Linked DNA regions of Homo sapiens: region 2 is linked to region 1. Evidence: promoter capture Hi-C in human tissues and cell types (Jung and others, 2019). All regions are on one chromosome and are shown on one strand. Each heading gives the region's core, a stretch centred on a gene start or on the middle of the fragment in contact. The rest is flanking DNA. Distances are from core to core; before and after follow the strand shown. Region 1 holds the start of SUPV3L1 (Suv3 like RNA helicase). Region 2 overlaps VPS26A (VPS26 retromer complex component A).

Region 1 (5,803 bases), core at 1,642-4,141:
GCATATAGGGCCAACCAATTTAGGACAGAACCTGGATGCCATACGATGGAATATGGGCTTTATCTGAACATTTATTCAGAATCACCAAAGGACTCTAAGCAGGAGTAACTTACCAGATTTGTGTTTTCAAAAGATCATTATGGTGCTACGGCAAAGTATAGGAGGATACCAGTTACATAGTTACTGCATTAATCCATTCAACAAGCAAAATAAAACATTTATAGAGGCTCTAATATGTGTTAGGTGCTGATTACACTTACTGCTATAAATATGACATAACCAGTATAGATATGACATCTTTTTTTGTAAAAGCAAAAATTTTATATTGAATTTTCCCATTTCAATGTTTATAGTAGAACTTAATGAATGGCTGAAAGGGAAAGCCTGTATGTGCTATCATAAAATTCAGATTGCATTTTCTACCTGCAAGGAGGTGCAAACAAAATTACAGTTAAAATAGTTTTGAGGATTTTTTTTTTCTGTAAAACTATACTAGGGTTGGGCTAGATCTGTAAGACTAGTAACTGCCAGGTGCTGTGGCATGCACCTGTAGTTCCAGTTACTCAGGAGGCTGACACAGGATTGCTTGAGCCCAGGAGTTCACGATCACCCTTCCAAAGAAAAAAAAAGACTCGTACAAATGTTGATTCTGGCCTAATATGCTGCTCCTGTCCAAAAAGCCCACCTATTTGCTTTGAAATCAGAAAGACTGGCTGGGCACGGTGGCTCACACCTGTAATCCCAGCACTTTGGGAGGCCGAGGCAGCTGGATCACTTGAGGCCAGGAGTTCTGAGACCAGCCTGGCCAACATGGTGAAACTAAAGAGAATACAAAAATTAGCCAGGTATTGTGGTGCAAGCCTGTAGTCCCAGCTACTCGGGAGGCTGAGGCATGAGAATTGCTTGAGCCTGGGAGGTGGACGTTGCAGTGAGTTATGATTGCACCACTGCACTTCAGCCTGGGCAACAGAGTGAGACTGTCTCAAAAAAAAGAAAAAAAAAAGATTTAGATTTGTATCTGACTCTACCACTTACTGGGGCAAGTTAGTTAACCTGGTGACAATAATACCTCTAAATTGTTGTCAAGCATATTAAAAGATTAAAAGGAACAACATAGTGCTTGCCTCAGTTACGTATTAAACGTTTGGTTTATCCTTCATTCTCCTAGTTTCCAAATCTGACGAGACATCATTGTTTATTAACATTTTCTAGCATATTTAGTCACTCACTACATTATCTAAGGAGTCTTGTAAAACCTCTCATTCCACATACATGGTCTCCATCATAACTCAGACACAGGAATCTACCACCTTCAGCTAGAACTGTTGATAAAGTTGTAATTTTCCTCCCTGCATATTTGTGTTTATCCTAGTCTATCCTAGGTACTTCCTAATGAATGATTTCTCTTCTCAAAAATATAATCACTATTTGTAAGCCATAGAATTAGGTCTGCGTTAACTCTGTTACTTAAATTTTTTTCAGTATGTCTTTTCCTTAGTTAAGCCTCTGCTTACATCGTTTCCACTGACTAGAATTTACTTACCGCTTCTCTATGTTTTACTTTTAAGTCTGGCAGAAATCTCCTTACCACTCTCAAATTGCTCCTTTCTTTGAACTGCCATTAGTCTATTAGAGTAATAAGTGCATTATTTAACGTGTACTGTTCTTACCACCAAAACCAGATCAGAACCTTTGAAAGCAAAGGACTGTCTCCTTGTATCCCTGATGTTTAAAAATTATTTTGTGAATCAAAGGCACGTGGCAAATTGTTACTGGAATCCTATTAGACATACAGTATTGTATATTACATAACACGTTCCTTCAAGTTGTAAGATCTTAATGATGTAAGTATAAAGAGATGTGGATGGAGATGCTAAACTTGTGAATTTTTTTTTTTTTTAGACGGAGTCTCACTCTGTTGCCCAGGCTGGAGAGCAGTGGCCCGATCTCGGCTCACTGCAACCTCTGGCACCCAGGTTCAAACGATTCTCCTGCCTCCGCCTCCCTAGTAATTGGGATTACAGGTGTGCACCACCACGCCCGGCTGATTCTTGTATTTTTAGTAGAGAGGGGATTTCACCATGTTTGCCAGGCTGGTCTCGAACTCCTGACCTCAGATGATCCACCGGCCTCGCCCTCCCTAAGTGCTGCGATTACAGGCGTGAACCACCACGCCCGGGTTAAACTTGTGAATTTAACATGTTGCAGCCTCACATGAGAACACGGTATTCAACAAATGCAATGGAACGAAACTATGGCTGGGGTACAGAGCACGTATTTTTGCCATGTGGTCACAACTATGTGGTCATAGCTGCTAGGATGATGTACGCAAACTGCTCACATTAAAGCAAAAGTACTTACGTAATACAAGGGGTTTAATAGTGCAACAATATTTCTTAGCAACATTTCTGAGGGGCATATCAAGTTATTATCGCTAACGTTATCATATCAGGAAATGACGGTTAACAATGCAAGAAACTTTTGGGAAATGCTATTTAGTGTTTGAGTCCGCAAGACATACTCGTACCCTGAGCATTCGCAGTTGCTGCTCCACCACCCATTCTCTCACTGCTCACCCACGTGCTTCTGGACACTTGCTTACCAAAGTACTAGTTTGCATCACGTGACACGACTAGCAGGCCCCCTCCGCTCATGTATGACATCCCAAAGATGCCTGATTATTTTCCCTTCTTTAGGGAAAGGTGGTCCCAATCACCAACAAAACAGAGAAAGAGAACGAGAATTATCTCTAGTGGTTTTGCCTGCTAATCTTCTTTTTCCCTGAAAGAACACCCTCACGGCACGGCGTTTTCCTTAACGGTCAGGCGTTTTCCCGGGCAGCTTACCTGCTCGGCCTGGGTCTTTCTGGACAGCAGGCGCTGGAGGTGCGCGTCACTGTCCGCCGCCGTGTCCGCGGCTGCGCCAGACAGTGTAGAACCTGCGGCCTCGATGTCCTTCTCCCGTGCCCTATTGTGGGCTCGGCTCCCGGCGGGGCGCCAGGCTGGCCACCGGGCAGCCATCTGCTCTGCCCTTCGTCCCCACTTTGGGCCCTTTCCCGGGGTTCTGGGGCAAGTTTCTGTCCTTGCCACCGCCTCCTCCTCTGCCTCCGGTGGCTCCAAAATACCAAACACGTCCTTGTTCGTGCCCCTGACTGTGAAACCTCAGGGCCCCAGCGCCGACGGCGACGTCGGGGCCGAGCTAACCCGGCCTCTGGACAAGAGTGAGTGCGGGAACTACTGAGGGCGGCAGAGGGTGGTGTCTGCTGGGCCGAGGCTGGTTGGGAGGAAGCTACATCCCCTTCCCCTGGGGATCCGAGGTCCCATCGAGTGTTGTCATCGTGCCTCTCAGTGTCTGCCTCCTTCGCTGGTGTGTGAGCCCCTCAAACGGCTTAGGACTGTATCTGATTAATTCTTAACGCCTCGTCCCAGAAGCGGCCTTTTCCCTTTTACTGCCCTGCTCTCTGAATGGTTTAGACACTCATGTGTTGGGAAGATTTGACTTTTTTGAGTTGTTAGGTGGACGCCCGCTCTTTCTTGCATTCTTTGTTTCTCTCCCACCCCCGAATGGGATGTGGCAGTGAAAAGCCAGCGGAGACTCCTTTTAGGATTCTTTATCATTGAGGAGGCGCCGACTCATACCACGCTGTTAGGCTGTGTGGTGGTTGCCAAGAGGAACCAGACTCAGATCCAGATCCCCTCTTAAGAAACGTAACGGTATCGTGGGGGAGGACACGTGTATGGAAAGTGAACTGTAATACAAGGTAGAACATGACAAGGTCTAGAACAAGGTAGGGTGTCCCCGGCTCCAGAGAGAAAAGAAGAGGTAGCATCAGTTAGTGGCAGCGGGCTTTGCTCAGCAAAACTTAAGTTTGGATGGATTCGTTGACAGAGAGGCATGTGAATGTTTTCAAGGTGAGTTTCGGGATGATTAGGGAGGTAAGGGAGTTTCCTCTGACCATATGAAACTGGGAGATTGAGGAAATGCTATCCAGAATTGTCTCCAGGAATAGGAGGAGAAATGTCTCACTTCAACAAGCGACATTGGTGCCTCCTATTGTAAATCTAAAATATAGACTACAATATGTTTTTCAGAGCAGAAGTACAGTACTTTCACTAAACATGTGATGGAACTCACAGTATATGTTATTCTTTGACATATTCTTCCAGTGTTAAGCAAGGCCTTTCACTTTACTTGGTGCTGGGAGACTGTCTTTATTTTCTGCTGTTATAACATAATACCTGAGACTGAGTAATTTATAAACAATAGAGGTGTATTTGACTCATGGTTCTGAGCCGGGATCTGATGAGGGCCTTTGGCTGCATCATCACATGGTGGAAGGTGGAAAGGCAAATGAGCCTGTGAGACAGAGAAAGGGGGCTGAACTTATCCTTTTTTCCTGTGATAACTGACTCCTGTGATAATGGCATTAATCCACTCACAAAGGCAAACTCCTCATGTCCTAATCACCTCTTAAAGGTTCCACCTCTCAACTGTTAAAATAGCAATTAAATTTCAATATGAGTCTTGGAGAAGACATTCAAACCATAGCAGAGAATGTGTTATTTTAATAATGTAATTATACTATTATTTATTTTTAAATTATAAAAATACATAAAATTTACTCTTTTAAGCTTTTTTTTAGTTTTTTTTTCTTTACTTTTTTTTTTTTAGAGACAGGGTCTTGCTCTGTTACCCAAGCTGGAGTATAGTGGTATGATCATAGCTCACTGTAACCTCCAACTCCCAGACTCAAGCAATCCTCCTGGCTCAGCCTTCTAAGTAGCTAGGAATACAGGCGTGCATCACCATGCCTGGATAATTTTTTAATTTTTTGTAGAGATGGGGTCTTGCTATGTTGCCCAGGCTGGTCTCAAACTTCTGGGCTCCAGGGATCCTCCTGCCATGGCCTCCCAAAGCCCTGAGATTACAGACCTGAGCCACTGCACCCAGCCAGTCTTAATTGTTTTTAAGCACATAGTTCACTAGCGTTAAGTATATTGACATTGTCGCGAAATAGATGAGAACTTTTTCATCTTGCAGAGTTGAAACTCAAACAATAGTTTACCCATTAAAGAACAATTTTCCATTATTTTATATTATTTGAAGGCATAAGGTAATTTGGATGAGATAATTTGCCTTATTGTATTCAAATATTGATAAATTCTTATTTTCTGCAGCTATTCCAATTCACCTGAAAATGTAAATGTCTTTGCTGCTTCCTGTAAGAAGATAGAATAAAGACATGGGTTTGTCAGCACTAGATTTTCTTCTGGTGGAGAATCCTTAGATACTTCATTGGGTCTGTGTGCCAGGTGATTTTTCATCTCCTTTGACTGGGATTGGTCCAGATGTTGAATTTACTAGAATGATTTTTCAGCATGGCAGGAGGGGCTACAGAAGATGGTGCATTACTACACTCTGATATAGCCATGTGGTTAAGGTGTCAGATTTCCACTTAGCTTAGCAATCAGGACAAGAAGCTGTCACTTCTCAATCTCTTTTGCCTACTCATAACCCAAAAAGTTGAGGTACTTAAAGGCTTTGTCCTGCGTCACCTTGCTGCCTTATTCTGTGCTGTCTATGGGGTGTCTCATTCTCTCTCTCCCCTCACTAATTCAGTATTCCTCTCAGATCTTTGTCTCTACCCTGGACCTCTCTCCTTCACCCTGGACCTATATATCTCGCTGCCTACCAGGTGTCTCCACTTGTCTTTCTTACACACACCTCACCTTAGCATGTCAAGACAACTTACCTTCCCCTCAGCCTGCTCCTGCAGGTGCTCAGGTCAAAACCTGGTAGTCTT
Region 2 (5,803 bases), core at 2,191-4,690, 38 kb before region 1:
TGCACCACCAGTCCTTATATCTTTGTCTCTTTATTTGTTTCATTGTCTGAAGCTTATTCTCTAGTTACTAGAGTCTAATAGATTCCTCAGGAAATGCTCATGGGAACAATAAGGCCTAAGTTTTTGCATATTGGTAATGGCTTTTTTGTGTCCTTTACACTTAAAAGTTAGTTTTTCTGAATAATCTTGGCTTACATTTTTTTGAGTTATTTTATTTATTTTCTATTTATTTATTATTTTTGAGATGGAGTCTTGCTCTGTCACCCAGGCTGGAGTGCGGTGGCATAATCTCGGCTCACTGCAACCTCTGCCTCCTAGGTTCAAGCGATTCTCCTGCCTCAGCCTCCCAAGTAGCTGGGACTACAGGTGCCCACCACCATGTCTGGCTAGTTTTTAAATTTTTAGTAGAGATGGGGTTTCACCATATTGGCCAGGCTGGTCTCAAACTCCTGACCTTGTGATCCGCCTGCCTTGGCCTCCCAAAGTGCTGGGATTACAGATATGATCCATCGTGCCCGGCCTTCTTGAGTGTTTTAAATCTATTATTACTGCATTGTCTTCTGGCATAGGGTATTGTTAACAGTTTTTTCATTTGAGGAAAGTTTTCTTGAATTACAGCCATTATTAATTAGTATTTATTCCATTCCTTTGCTTTGGTTTTCTTCTTGATATCAGTATTTTTGAGTCTTGTTTGAGTGTGGTTTTTTGCTCTTGTATTCCTTCTGCTTATCCTTTATTTCTAAAATGATTTTTACTTCTATTTCTAATTCTTTTCTGATTTTTCTCACCCTAGCTTAAGATTTTCTTTCATGTATTGTATCATTTTCTTAATATCGTATAGCCTGTTTTGAAATAAATTACAGTTTTGATCTATCTTGTCTGTAGAAATGCCATTCTGTTCCTTCTCTTTTTTTCTTAAAATAACTTTGTATGGGATTTGACCTTGATATATTTATGTTGCTAATTTTTATGTGAAATTAGTTTTCCCCAATGTTTTTTTTTTTTGAGATAAGATCTTGCTCTGTTGCCCAGGCTGGAATGCAGTGGCATGACTATGGCTCACTGCAGCCTTGACCTCCAAGGCCCAAGCGATCCTCCTACCTCAGCCTTCCGAGTAGCTGGGACCACAGGCATGTGCCACTGTGCCTAGCTAATTAAAAAATATATATTTTTTGTAGAGACAGGGTCTTGCTATGTTGCTCAGGCTGGTCTCAAACTCCTGAGCTCAAGTGATCCTCCCATCCTGGCCTCCCAAAGTGCTGAGATGTGAGCCACTGCACCCGACCTTCTCCTGAACTTTTTGTCTTTTCGTGATAGAGTCTCACTCTGTCACCCATGTTGGAGTGCAGTGGCACGATTTCAGCTCACTGCAACCTCCGTCTCCCAGGCTAAAGCGATCTTCCCATCTCTGCCTCCTGAGCAGCTAGGACCACAGGGCACACTACCACGCCCAATTATTATTATTATTATTTTTGGTATTTTGGGGTAGATACGGGGTTTCACCGTGTTGCCCAGGCTGGTTTCGAGCTCCTGAGCTCAGGCGATCCACCTGTCTCAGCCTCCCAAAGTGCTGGGATTACAGGTGTGAACCACTGTGCCTGGCCCTTCCTGAACTTTTGATGGTTTGGTTTAGGATAGTTTTTCTAACCACCTATCCTAGACAGCAGGCCTGACTGGTCAGTTTTGAGTGTTCTAATATTATTGGATTGTGCAAAACTCCTTCCAGCGTTAGCTCTTATTCTCAGATTGACACCATGCTTTCCAGTGAATATATATGAGTAATTTGGGAGTTCTTAGGTCCATCAGACACTCCATTGCATTCTTTGATTCCTCCTGCACAACCCTAGTATCATGCAGGTTTTGTGGCTATTAACCTGGTTTGTCCCTACGCATTATGTTTTGGGATTGTGGGAATACTTTATCTTTTTCTGTGGTAAATTGGATCCTTAGATTTTTTTGGTTTTGCTGTCTAGTTGGTCCATCTGTTTTTATGTGACGATCTGGGGAGATTCAAAGACTATGTTGCCATCTTCCCAGAAATTGATCTGAGATTCTAAAAGGCCATGTGTAACCATTCTGGCAGTTTAGCAATATGTATCAAAATCTTCAAAAGTGGATATCATTTATAGTAGCCAGAATAGTCTGGATTATTACTATGTAAGAGACAACCCCAAAACTCAGTGACTTAAAAACAACAGTGGCAGTGGCTTCTTTCTTGCCCAGGCAACATGTTCCTTGTGAGTTAGCTGAGGGCCTTATTCTGTGCCATGCTCAGTGATGGAGCAGCCAGGAACATCACACTCATCATGGCTGAGGGAGAGAAATCTCTGCAGAGTCTTTCACAAGCCATTAAAATGCCCCATCCTAGAAGTAACAAAGAGCATTTCTGATCAAATTTATTGTCTCTAGAAACAGTCTTGTTCGTACCTCACCCAGCCACAAGAGGGTAGGGAATACAATCATACCATGCACTCAGAATGTATGCAGCTGGAAATATTTGAGCAGTGCCTGTATTGATTAATATTATTTTGATCCACAGATTCTTCTGATCAGATTTTATCCTAAAATAATCAACTTTGTTCATTTCACTGTTTATAATATTCAAAAATTGAAAGCCACTTAAATGTCCAGACATTAAAAAACCTAATTATGGTAATAACCATTAAGTGCTTAGGGCCATTATTAATGTGATTATATTGATCTGTATTCATTCACATGAAAAGAGGTTTGCTATAATAACAATATTTACTGAGTACTCACCATGACCCAGGTATTCCTTCTGAAGTTCTTCATAATGATACAATGATTCCTCTTTTTTTTTTGAGATGCAGTCTTGCTCTGTTGCCAGCCTGGAGTGCCGTGGCGCGATCTTGGCTCACTGCAACCTCTGCCTCCCGGGTTCAAGTGATTCTCCTGCCTCAGCCTCCCGAGTAGCTGGGATTACAGGCGCATGCCACCACGCCCGGCTAATTTTTTGTATTTTTAGTAGAGACGGGGTTTCACCATGTTGGCCAGGATGGTCTCAATCTCTTGACCTCATGATCTGCCTGCCTCAGCCTCCCAAAGTGCTGGGATTATAGGCGTGAGCCACCATACCAGGCCTTTTTTTTTTTTTTTTTTTTTGAGGTGGGGTCTCACTGTGTTGCCCAGGCTGAGTGTAGTGTCATGATTACGGCTCACTGCAGCCTCATCCCCCTGGGGGCCCAAGTAATCCTCCTACCTCAGCCTCCCAAGTAGCTGGGACCGCAGACATATGAACCACCCTGCCTGGCTAATTAAAAAAATTTTTTTTTTTTATAGATAGGGTCTTGTTGTGTTGCCCAGTCTGGTCTCAAACTCCTGGACTCAAGTGATTCCCCAACCTTGACCTCCCAAAGTGCTGGGATTATAGGCATGAGCCACTGTGCCTGGCCAAGGATTATTTGAAAGATTATCTTGTGTTCAGTAAAATTAGGATAACTAAAGAAAATGAAAAAAGTGGTATAGATTTGTAATAACCTCAGAAAGACTATCTTGACAACGAGCTTGAGGCTTTTAAAGCTAAGAAAGACATTTTAAACCTCATATTTAGAATAAGATGAATAAGAAAATAATATGCTCATTTGGCACACTTATTTTAATATAACAAATGCAAAAGAAAGCTTTCCCCCCACTATTCAAAAAAAAAAAAAAGATTTAAATTGGGAAAGGTAGGATCATTAAAAATTAAAACAGAATGAAAGCTTTGTTATGGTTAAGAAGATTAAAAATAAACTAACTAGTTTTCAAACATCCTGGTGACCATACCAGACAAATGCTATGCGATAATACTGAAAGAATTTTGCAGAACTGGTCACCAAATCTCTGCTAGGAGTCCTTTAGTAATTGTGGAAAATGAGAGAGGTTCTAGAATATAAGAAAAGCCCTTATTTATAAAATGGGGTAGAAAGTTTGTTTCAGGTAAACTTAATATTGGTTCCTGACATATCTTTAGATTATTAAATAGGTGATCAGTGAACATGCTGAAAAGAAAGCTTAAAGGAAAAAGAGGAGGAAACAACGGGTTGTTTACGACCAAGCATGTGTCACTAAGAACAAATCTTGCCACACCAATCTAGGGTTTGTGAAATGTCCTGGTGTAATAAAAAGATCACTGGGCTAGCACTGGAAGATCTAGCCTTAACTTTACCGCTGTCTTGGTAGGTAACTCTGGACAGTCATTTAATTTCCTGGATCTCACCTATAAGTTTAGGAGGTTAGACTGCCTCATTGGTTTCCAAACTTGGCTTTGCACTGTAGGATGCTCTGCATGAAAATCTTTCATATATTAGATATTATGTTGGATCTTGGAGGTCTGACATCTCGCCCACAGCAAGAATAAATTCCTTTTTAATATTCCTGACGTGAGTTTCTGTATGCCTACTTTTCAGAGTGTGGGGATTCTGCTGTTCTGTTAACAGTATCCACTCTGCTTTTTAGAGATACGCAAAATAAATCTAATCCTTTTCTAAGTAAGAGTTCTCTCTAAGCATTTTCCACATCACTGTCTTGTTTATCCTGTCTTCTCTAAGCTAAATATGCTATTTCCTTTAGTTATTGTTCAAGAACCCTGGGTTTTGAGTCTTTATCACCCAGATTGCTTTCTTTTAGTTTTCAAATTAAATTTAATTTTTTTGAGACAGGGTCTTGCTGTGTCACCCAGGCTGGAGTGTAGTGATGTGGTCATGGCTCATTGTAGCCTTGACCTCTCAAGCTCAGGCGATCCTCTCACCTCAGCCTCCCAAGTAGCTCAGACAACAGGCACACACCACCATGCTCAGCTAATATTTTACTATTTTTGTAGAGTTGGGGTCTCCCCATGTTTCCCAGGCTAATCTCAAACTTCTGGGCTCAAGTGATCCTCCTGCCTCTGCCTTCCAAAGTGCTGGAATGACAGGTGTGAGGCACTGTGTCCAGCCTCAGATTCTTACATAACTATATAGAAAACTGGTTTGCATTATCTGTATCCAGCAGTTCTACTCCTAGATACATACTCAAGAGCTCTTTTAAGAGCAATTCTAGATTTTCAGAAAAATTGAGCAGAAAGTAGAGTTCTGTGTACTCCCTTCTTCCTCACCCCAGCCCCACATGGATTCACTGTTACTAATCTTGCATTAGAGTGATACATTTGTTAAAATTGTTGAACCATTATTACCACATTATTATTAACTAAAGTCCATAGTTTACATTAGGGTTTACTCTGTTGTACATTTTCTGGGTTTTGATAAATGCATAATGTCATGTATCCATCATTGTGATATCATATAGAATAGTTTAACCACCCTAAAAATTCCCTGTGTTTCATTCACCTAGTCATGCCGCTCTGGCACCTGCGCTACCACCACCATCCACACAGTCTTCGGCAACTACTCATCTTTTTACTGTCTATAATTTTGTCTTTTCTAGAATGTCATGTAGTTGGAATCATATAGAATGTAGCCTTTTTAGATTGGTTTATTTCATTTAGCAATATTCTTTTAAGGTTTCTCCATATATCTTTGTGACTTGATTGCTCATTTATTTTTAGTGCCAAATCATATTCCATTGTATGGATGTACCAATGTTTGTTTATCCGTTTACCTACTATCTTGGTTGGTTCCAAGTTTTGCTCATTTTTCTATCTAGTTGACTCTTTTTCTCTTATTGATGTGTAGGATTTTTTGTATGTTCTTGATAAAGGTGTTTTATATATCTAGATATGGAGTCCTTTGTCTATGTATGTATCATAAATATCTTCTCCTAATTTCTGGCTTGACTTTGTAGTCTCTTAATGGTGTCTTATGAT

The links. The method cuts DNA at HindIII sites, captures the fragments that hold promoters and counts their contacts. A contact is called where the count stands out against the background at its distance.
Region 2: a fragment that was not itself captured here is called in contact with the fragment with the promoter of SUPV3L1 in region 1 in 1 of the 25 tissues and cell types used here (adrenal gland).

What each region holds. Positions count from the first base shown.
Region 1 is chr10:69,177,343-69,183,145 of GRCh38, forward strand. SUPV3L1 (Suv3 like RNA helicase) reads left to right here and starts at 2,892. Exons shown (of 15, transcript NM_003171.5): 1 at 2,892-3,220. The coding sequence starts at 2,950. RefSeq lists an enhancer at 2,607-2,976. The HindIII fragment of the contact is 9,715 bases long and covers 1-5,803 here.
Region 2 is chr10:69,139,081-69,144,883 of GRCh38, forward strand. The region is part of intron 2 of VPS26A (VPS26 retromer complex component A); the gene reads left to right. Among named protein-coding and RNA genes, the nearest start is that of VPS26A, 18 kb to the left of the region's middle. The HindIII fragment of the contact is 3,189 bases long and covers 1,847-5,035 here.